Regions from separate parts of the Homo sapiens genome. Here region 1 is linked to region 2. Evidence: promoter capture Hi-C in 16 types of primary human blood cells and fetal thymus (Javierre and others, 2016). All regions are on one chromosome and are shown on one strand. Each heading gives the region's core, a stretch centred on a gene start or on the middle of the fragment in contact. The rest is flanking DNA. Distances are from core to core; before and after follow the strand shown.

Evidence for each region. Contacts are between HindIII fragments. The CHiCAGO score rates a contact against its expected background, and 5 or more counts as called.
Region 1: a fragment that was not itself captured here is called in contact with the fragment with the promoter of MSANTD3 in region 2 in 1 of 17 cell types (total B cells); the score reaches 8.5 in total B cells.

The regions. Positions count from the first base shown.
Region 1 is chr9:99,153,705-99,156,829 of GRCh38, reverse strand. It overlaps TGFBR1 (transforming growth factor beta receptor 1), which reads right to left. Exons shown (of 9, transcript NM_004612.4): 9 at 2,638-3,125. Among named protein-coding and RNA genes, the nearest start is that of TGFBR1, 50 kb to the right of the region's middle. The HindIII fragment of the contact is 2,096 bases long and covers 595-2,690 here.
Region 2 is chr9:100,425,440-100,428,880 of GRCh38, reverse strand. MSANTD3 (Myb/SANT DNA binding domain containing 3) reads right to left here and starts at 1,738. Exons shown (of 3, transcript NM_080655.3): 1 at 1,488-1,738. RefSeq lists silencers at 1,242-1,361, 1,402-1,631, 1,672-1,901. The HindIII fragment of the contact is 12,044 bases long and covers 1-3,441 here.

The DNA.
Region 1 (3,125 bases), core at 393-2,892, 1.3 Mb after region 2:
GCAATATTTTTTCAATTAAATAAATGTATTATTATATTCTTTTTGACGCTATTCTGAGTTTACTTTTGAAGGTATCGTTCATTGCTAATATAATGTCAATTTTTAATATTGATTGTGTATCCTACAACCTTGCTTGCTGAATTAGGTCTTGTAGCTTCAAAAAAAAAATTTTTTCCGGTGGATTCTTTAGAATCTGACAGGTAATATTTCTTAATAAAGACAGTTTTACTTTTTTCCCCAACCTAATGTCTTTCTAGTCTTTTTGTAGGGAGAGGGAACAGGGACTGGACAGAACCTCCATGACAACATTGAATAGAAATGATGAAAGGATGTTCTCGACTTGTTTCTGATTTAAGGAGAAAAGTATTCTTTCACCATCAAGTATGTTGGCTGTGAGTTTTTTATCGATGCCCTTCACTAGGTTGAGGAAGTTGCCTTCTATTTCTAGTTTGCTGAGTTTTCATCACGAATGGGTGCTGAATTCTGTCAAATATTCTTTCCTTTGGCTATTTAGTTATTATAATAATATGGGTTTTATTGTTTCTTCTATTAGTATGGTATAATACATTGATTTTTTTGATGTTAAATGAAGCTTACAGTCCTAGGATATGGCCCATTTGGTCCTGGTGTATAAATCCTTTTATCTGTTGTTGGATTCAGTTTCCTAATATTGTGTTTTAAGTATTTTTGCAGCTATCCCCACTGGCTTTAATACTTCTAAAGTATAGGTATTTAAAAGTGTAAATTTCCCTTTAAACAGTGCATTAGCTGTACACTATAAATTTTGACATGCTGTACTTTTTCATTTGTTTAAAATTTTCTAACTTCCTTTGTGACTTCTTCAATACATGGGTTTTTTAGAAATGTGTGATTCAATTTCCGAATATTTTGGGATTTGCAATTTTCTGTTGACTTCTAATTTCAACATGGTTGGAGAACATACTTCCTACTATTTCATCCCTTTTAATTCACTGAGACTTCTTTTATGAAATAGCATGTGGTTTCCCCTGGAGAATGTTCCATGTGCACTAGCAAAGAGTGTGCATTCTGTTCGTGGTGGGTGGTGGTAAATGTTTGGACAATTTGGCTGACAGCATTCTTTTGTATGCCTGTGATTCTCAATTGAGTCATTCTATCAATTATTGTAGGTGTCAAAATCTCCAAATATTATTAAATTGTCCATTTCTCCTCTCAATTCTATCATTTTTCTCGTTATTTTGGGGTCCTGTTAGGTGCATATACATATGTTAACTGTTATATCTGATATATTGGCTTTTTAAAATATCCTATATTTCCAGTAATATTTGTCTTAAAGCCCACTGTACTGATATAGACATTCCAGCTCTCTTACGATTACTGTTTGCATGTTATATTTTTCCATACTTTCACTTTACAGCTATTGGTCTTTGAATCTACAGTGTGCCTCTGTGAACACCATATAGTTTTTTCTTTTTAAATCCATCCTGACCATCTCTACCTTTTAACTATTTAGTCCATTCACATTTAATGAAATTATTGGCATGATTACTTATGGCTGCCATTTTGCTATTTGTTTTCCAAATGTCTATCATTTTGCTTCTTTCTTTCTGCCTTTTGTGTTAAATATTTCTTGGTGTACCATTTTGTTTTTTTTAATTTATTTTTAAATTGATGCTTCAGTGGTTACTCCAGGCTCTACAGCATGCATTTCAATTTATTACAATCATCTTCAAATTAGGACTAATTAATTCTAATAAGATACATCTTTGTCCCAATAGAGTTCCATTTCCTACCCACTCCTTTGTTATTAATATACACTGCACCTATATTGTAAACCCAACAGTATGGTGATGTAATTACTATATAGTCTTATGCTACTGAAAGATAACTTACATTTATTTTGGTAGGCAAATTATTTCCCCAAGATTCCCATTCTCTAGTTATTTAATCAAATACTAATCTTGGTACTGCAGTGAATGCACTTTGCAGGTAAAACTGAGGTTACTAAATAGGGTAATTATCCTGGATTATCCAGATGGCCCCCTGAGTAATCACATGGCCCCTTAAAAGCAGAAGAGGGAAGCAGAAGCATTAGAGAGATGCAGTGGAAGAGACAGTGGAGAGATGAGGCAGAAGGGGAGATCCGAGAAAAGTGCAAGGATGATTCAACCCATTGCTGCTGGTTTTGATGATGGAGGAGGGAACCACGAGCCAAAGAATTTGAGTGGCTTCTAGAAACTGACAACCACCCCTGGCCAACCTGTCTTACAACCATATGGAGCTGAATTCTGCCAACAACCTCAATGAGCTTGGAAGCCTATTCATCCGAGCCTCCAGAAAAGAATGTTGCCCAGCCAATGCCTTCATTTTGACCTTTTAAAATATGGAGCAGAGAACCATCTGAGCTATGCCTAGACTTCTGAATTATGGAATTCTGAGATCATAAATAGGTGTTGCTTTAAGCCAGGGCATTTGTAGTAATTTATGGCAGCTATACAATCATACAGTCTTTGCTAGTTGTACATATATCCACCATTTCTGGTGCTCTTCATTTCATCCTGTGGATTCAGGTTACCATCTGGTGTCATTTATTTTCTGTGTGAAGGATTTAGTATTTCTTGTAAGGCAGACGTCCATAGGCAACAAATTGTCTTAGTATTTGTCTGGGAATGTCTTTAATTTCACTTTTTTTCCAACTTTCAACAAAAGCTTCATATCCTGGTGATGTCTTTGTTATAAGGAAAAAAAAAAATCCCTAAATCCAGCCTTCAAATTGAAGTAACTATCTTTAATGTGAGAGCAATCCTATTCACAAAGCCCCTCCCCAGAGTCAATCAAGGGTTTGGGGACCACATCTCATCATTTTTCCAGTTCTCTTGTAAGCCAAGTTTTCACCCCCAGGAGACTAACAAATGTGCTGACCCAAAGGCAACAGAGATCACCTGTAGACAGGTCCATCATGCCCCAATGGAAGACCCACACCCCTAAGCATGTGGAGAAAAGCCCCCAGGCACAGAGACACACCTGCAGACAGGAGGGCACTCCCCGAACACGCTATAATATTGTAACTTGCACTAGGCAGGGTTAGAAAACTTCTAAAGACTCTTGTAACTCAAAGGTTCTAGTTGCCATCTACAGCAACTACA
Region 2 (3,441 bases), core at 489-2,988:
TAAACCCAAAATAATCTCCTCAGGCCCATTACTTCTCTAACCCAGTGAATGGTGTTGAAAATGCACTCTTCCATTATATCAGTGAGACCTTTGTATTTTAAGCATCTCATCAACCATTAGGGCTGGCAAGCATCCCCATGCCCTGAAACACAAGAATTTTGTGAGAAGGGATAATGGCATTTTAGGAGGCCCAATCACCTGACCCTCCATCAATCTGAATATTTTTGGCGGCCTGGGAGTAAAAAGAGACAACCTATAACATCCCTCCCCACCCCCTGCCCCAGCAGCCTTTGTCCCCTAGCCCGGGTCTCTACGGGAGGGATGAAATCTGGCCCAGCAATGCTGCAGGGGAGGGATGGTGAACCCTGGTGCCTTCCTCTACATCTTCCTCCAGGACTTCAGAATCCTTCTTCTCCCCCTTGTCCATCCCATGTCTCTCTCTGGCCCTGGACTCCCACAGCCATCCTCAATCCTAACTCAGAAACTATGTTTTTTAATTAATATTCAGCAATTTCCTTGGAATACAATCATCTGCTCTGACATGCTGAAAGGCACACTCTCTGGCCCTGATATTATCCTACCTCCAGTTTTAAATGTATGACAAATATATCCCTGCATCCTATAACTACTCTCCTCGATACTGCAGGAACGTCTGTAATGTTAAATGTTATCACGCCTAAGAAATACCCAACCTCCTGAATCGGAATAGGGAGACTAAATTCTTCACTGTTTCGTACTCCTAAATAAAGATTATTCATGCAATTTACAGTAACTACCTCACAGCGCCAGGGTGATGATTCAATGATAATTCATGCCAACTGTTTAGTACCTAGGGCCTGGTACATACAGAGTGCTCAAAATTTAGCTGTTATCATTTACATACATTATCTTTCACAATAGTACCTGAGGGTAGATATTATACCACGCCCCCCCGACCCCCGCCTCTAATTTACAGAAACAGTAGCCCCGGCTCGGAGTAAAGGAGCTTTCCCAAGGTCAGTCAAGCAAGGATGTGATGCTCGGCCTTCATCCTGCAAGTGAGGGATCCCTCCCGTTACACTCTGGACGGGCGGGGCACTGGAGGTCTTAAAGGAGACAAGTATGGAAAAGCGCCGAGCACAGTGATCAGCACACAGTGGGGACGCCGGGATGGGAAGACCGCGGTACTGCAGGTCACCTGGATTCCCCCCGAGCAGCTCCCCGAGCCCGGGAGTCCAAAGCCCACCCCGCTCCCAGCCGTGGGCGCGCCACTGAGTACCCCAGAGGCCCGCGCCCCGGGGCTTTGTAGGCAGCAGGCCGGCCCTACTCACCGAGTCCCATCGCGGCGCGCAGAGGCGGCCGCCCGGCGCCCAGCCTGCAAGGCCGGGGTCGCAGCGGCTCGGCCCGAAAACCCTCCATGCCGGCCCCCGGCCCCCTCTACGCCCGGCCCGCGCCCCCCACCCCCGCCCCCGCCCGGCTGCGGCCCGCCCGGAAGGGGAGCCTCCTACCTGCAGCGGCGGCGCGGCAGCCGCGGCGACCGGGGGAGGGGCCGGCGAGGCGCGAGGGCGGGCGGCCTGGGCTCCTCTCGCAAGCAGGGCGGCCGGGAGGGCCGCGGGCTCCCGAACGCCGGGCGGCGGCGGCGGCGGCGGCGCGCCCCCGGCCGGCCAGGCCCCGCCGCGCGCGCCGCGGCCACAAAGCCCGGACGCCGCCGCCCCCTCGCGGACCGCCCGCCGCCTGCCGGTCCGTCGGCGCCGCCGAGGAGGGCGGGAGCGCGGCCCCGCGCCAGTCCCCACTTCCCCGAGCTGCGGCCGCCGGCCTCCAGGGGACTGGGGCGGGGCGCGGGGTGCCCCCCCGCCCACCTGCCCGTCCGCACCGACCCCGCTCCTGACATCCTCGGGCTGACGTCCTCGTGCTGATTTAGTTGCCTTTTTTCCCCACCTTTGCAGAGGAGCTCCTGAAGCGGCCCGAAAAACTGTTTTATTTCTATGAACAACAAAAGAATACATTTGTCACACGGGATTTGGCGGCCATGAACACGAGTTAGTTCAGTCCAGGTCCCCCGACTGAAATAGGCCCTTTTCTTTTAGGACTCCTTGATACTTGGGACAGCGAATCCCCCTATGCTGAGTTTATCAGAACTTCTGTTAATTTGTGGAACGTGCCTCCCCCAGGAGAGCGACTGTGCTCACTGGAGCCCAGGACCTGTCTCGGACACTGTGCTGACTCATTTGGAATTAATGCGTGTGTAAATGCATGCACAACAGCTCAAACTGTCGGGACAAGCCACCCTTTGCTCCTCCCGCAAACAGAGTGGCTGGATGTTTCTTTTGCCCTGGATCCATTGGGAAGACTCCAACCCCAGAGAAAGGCAGAGAAGGCTTTTTAACTTTTTTTTTTTTTGAGGTGAAATTCGCATAACATAAACCACTTAAAAGCGAACGATTTGGTGGCATTTATTACATTCATAATGTTGAGCAACCACTTCTATCTAGTTCTGAAACATCCATACTCCATTAAGCAGTAATTCCCCAGTCCCTCCTTCCTCCAGACCCTGGCAACGACTCAGCTATTTTCTATCTCTGTGAGTTTACTTTTTTCTGGGTATTTCATATAAATGCAACCATACAATATGCGGCCTTTTGTGTCGTTTCTTTGACTTAGCCTGTATTTAAGATTCATCCATGTTGAGGCGTGGATCAGTACTTCATTCCTTTTTATGGCTGATTAATATCCCATTGTATGTGTATATTATAATTTGTTTATTCATTCATCCCTTGATAGATATTTGGGTTACTTCCACCTTTTGGCTATTGTGAATAGTGCTGCTCTGAACATGCCTGTACACATATTTGAGTACCTGTTCCCAGTTCTTTTGGATACATACCTAGGAGTGGACTTTCTGGGTCATAGGGTAATTCTATGTTTAACTTTTCCAGGAACTGCCAAAAAGTTTTCCACAGCAGCTGAATGAATCATTTTACATTCCCATCACCAATGTTTGAGGGTTCCAAGTTTCCACAACCTTGTCAACACTTGCAATTTTCCGTTTTTGTGTTTTAATTCCTTGAACATTTTTGAGACTATTGCTTGCCCTCCCAACTCCCACTATCCATAGCCCTAAAGTAAAAACTGATCTAGGTTTTCACTATGTACAAAGAATCACGCAACCCTTTCTTTCTTCCCTCAAAAAACAATCCAGGGCAGAAGCACCAATAAAAATAAAGACCCTAAACTAAGAGCTATACTGGTCCTCATTCTTTTTCTTTTCTTTTTTTTTTTTTTTTTTTGAGACAGAGTCTGCTGGAGTGCAATGGTGCAATCTTGGCTCACTGCAACCTCCGCTTCCCGGGTTCAAGCAATTCTCCTGCCTCAGCCTCCCAAGTAGCTGGGACTATAGGCATGTGCCACCACTCCTGGATAATTTTTGTAATTTTAGTAGAGACAGGATTTCGCCATGTTGGC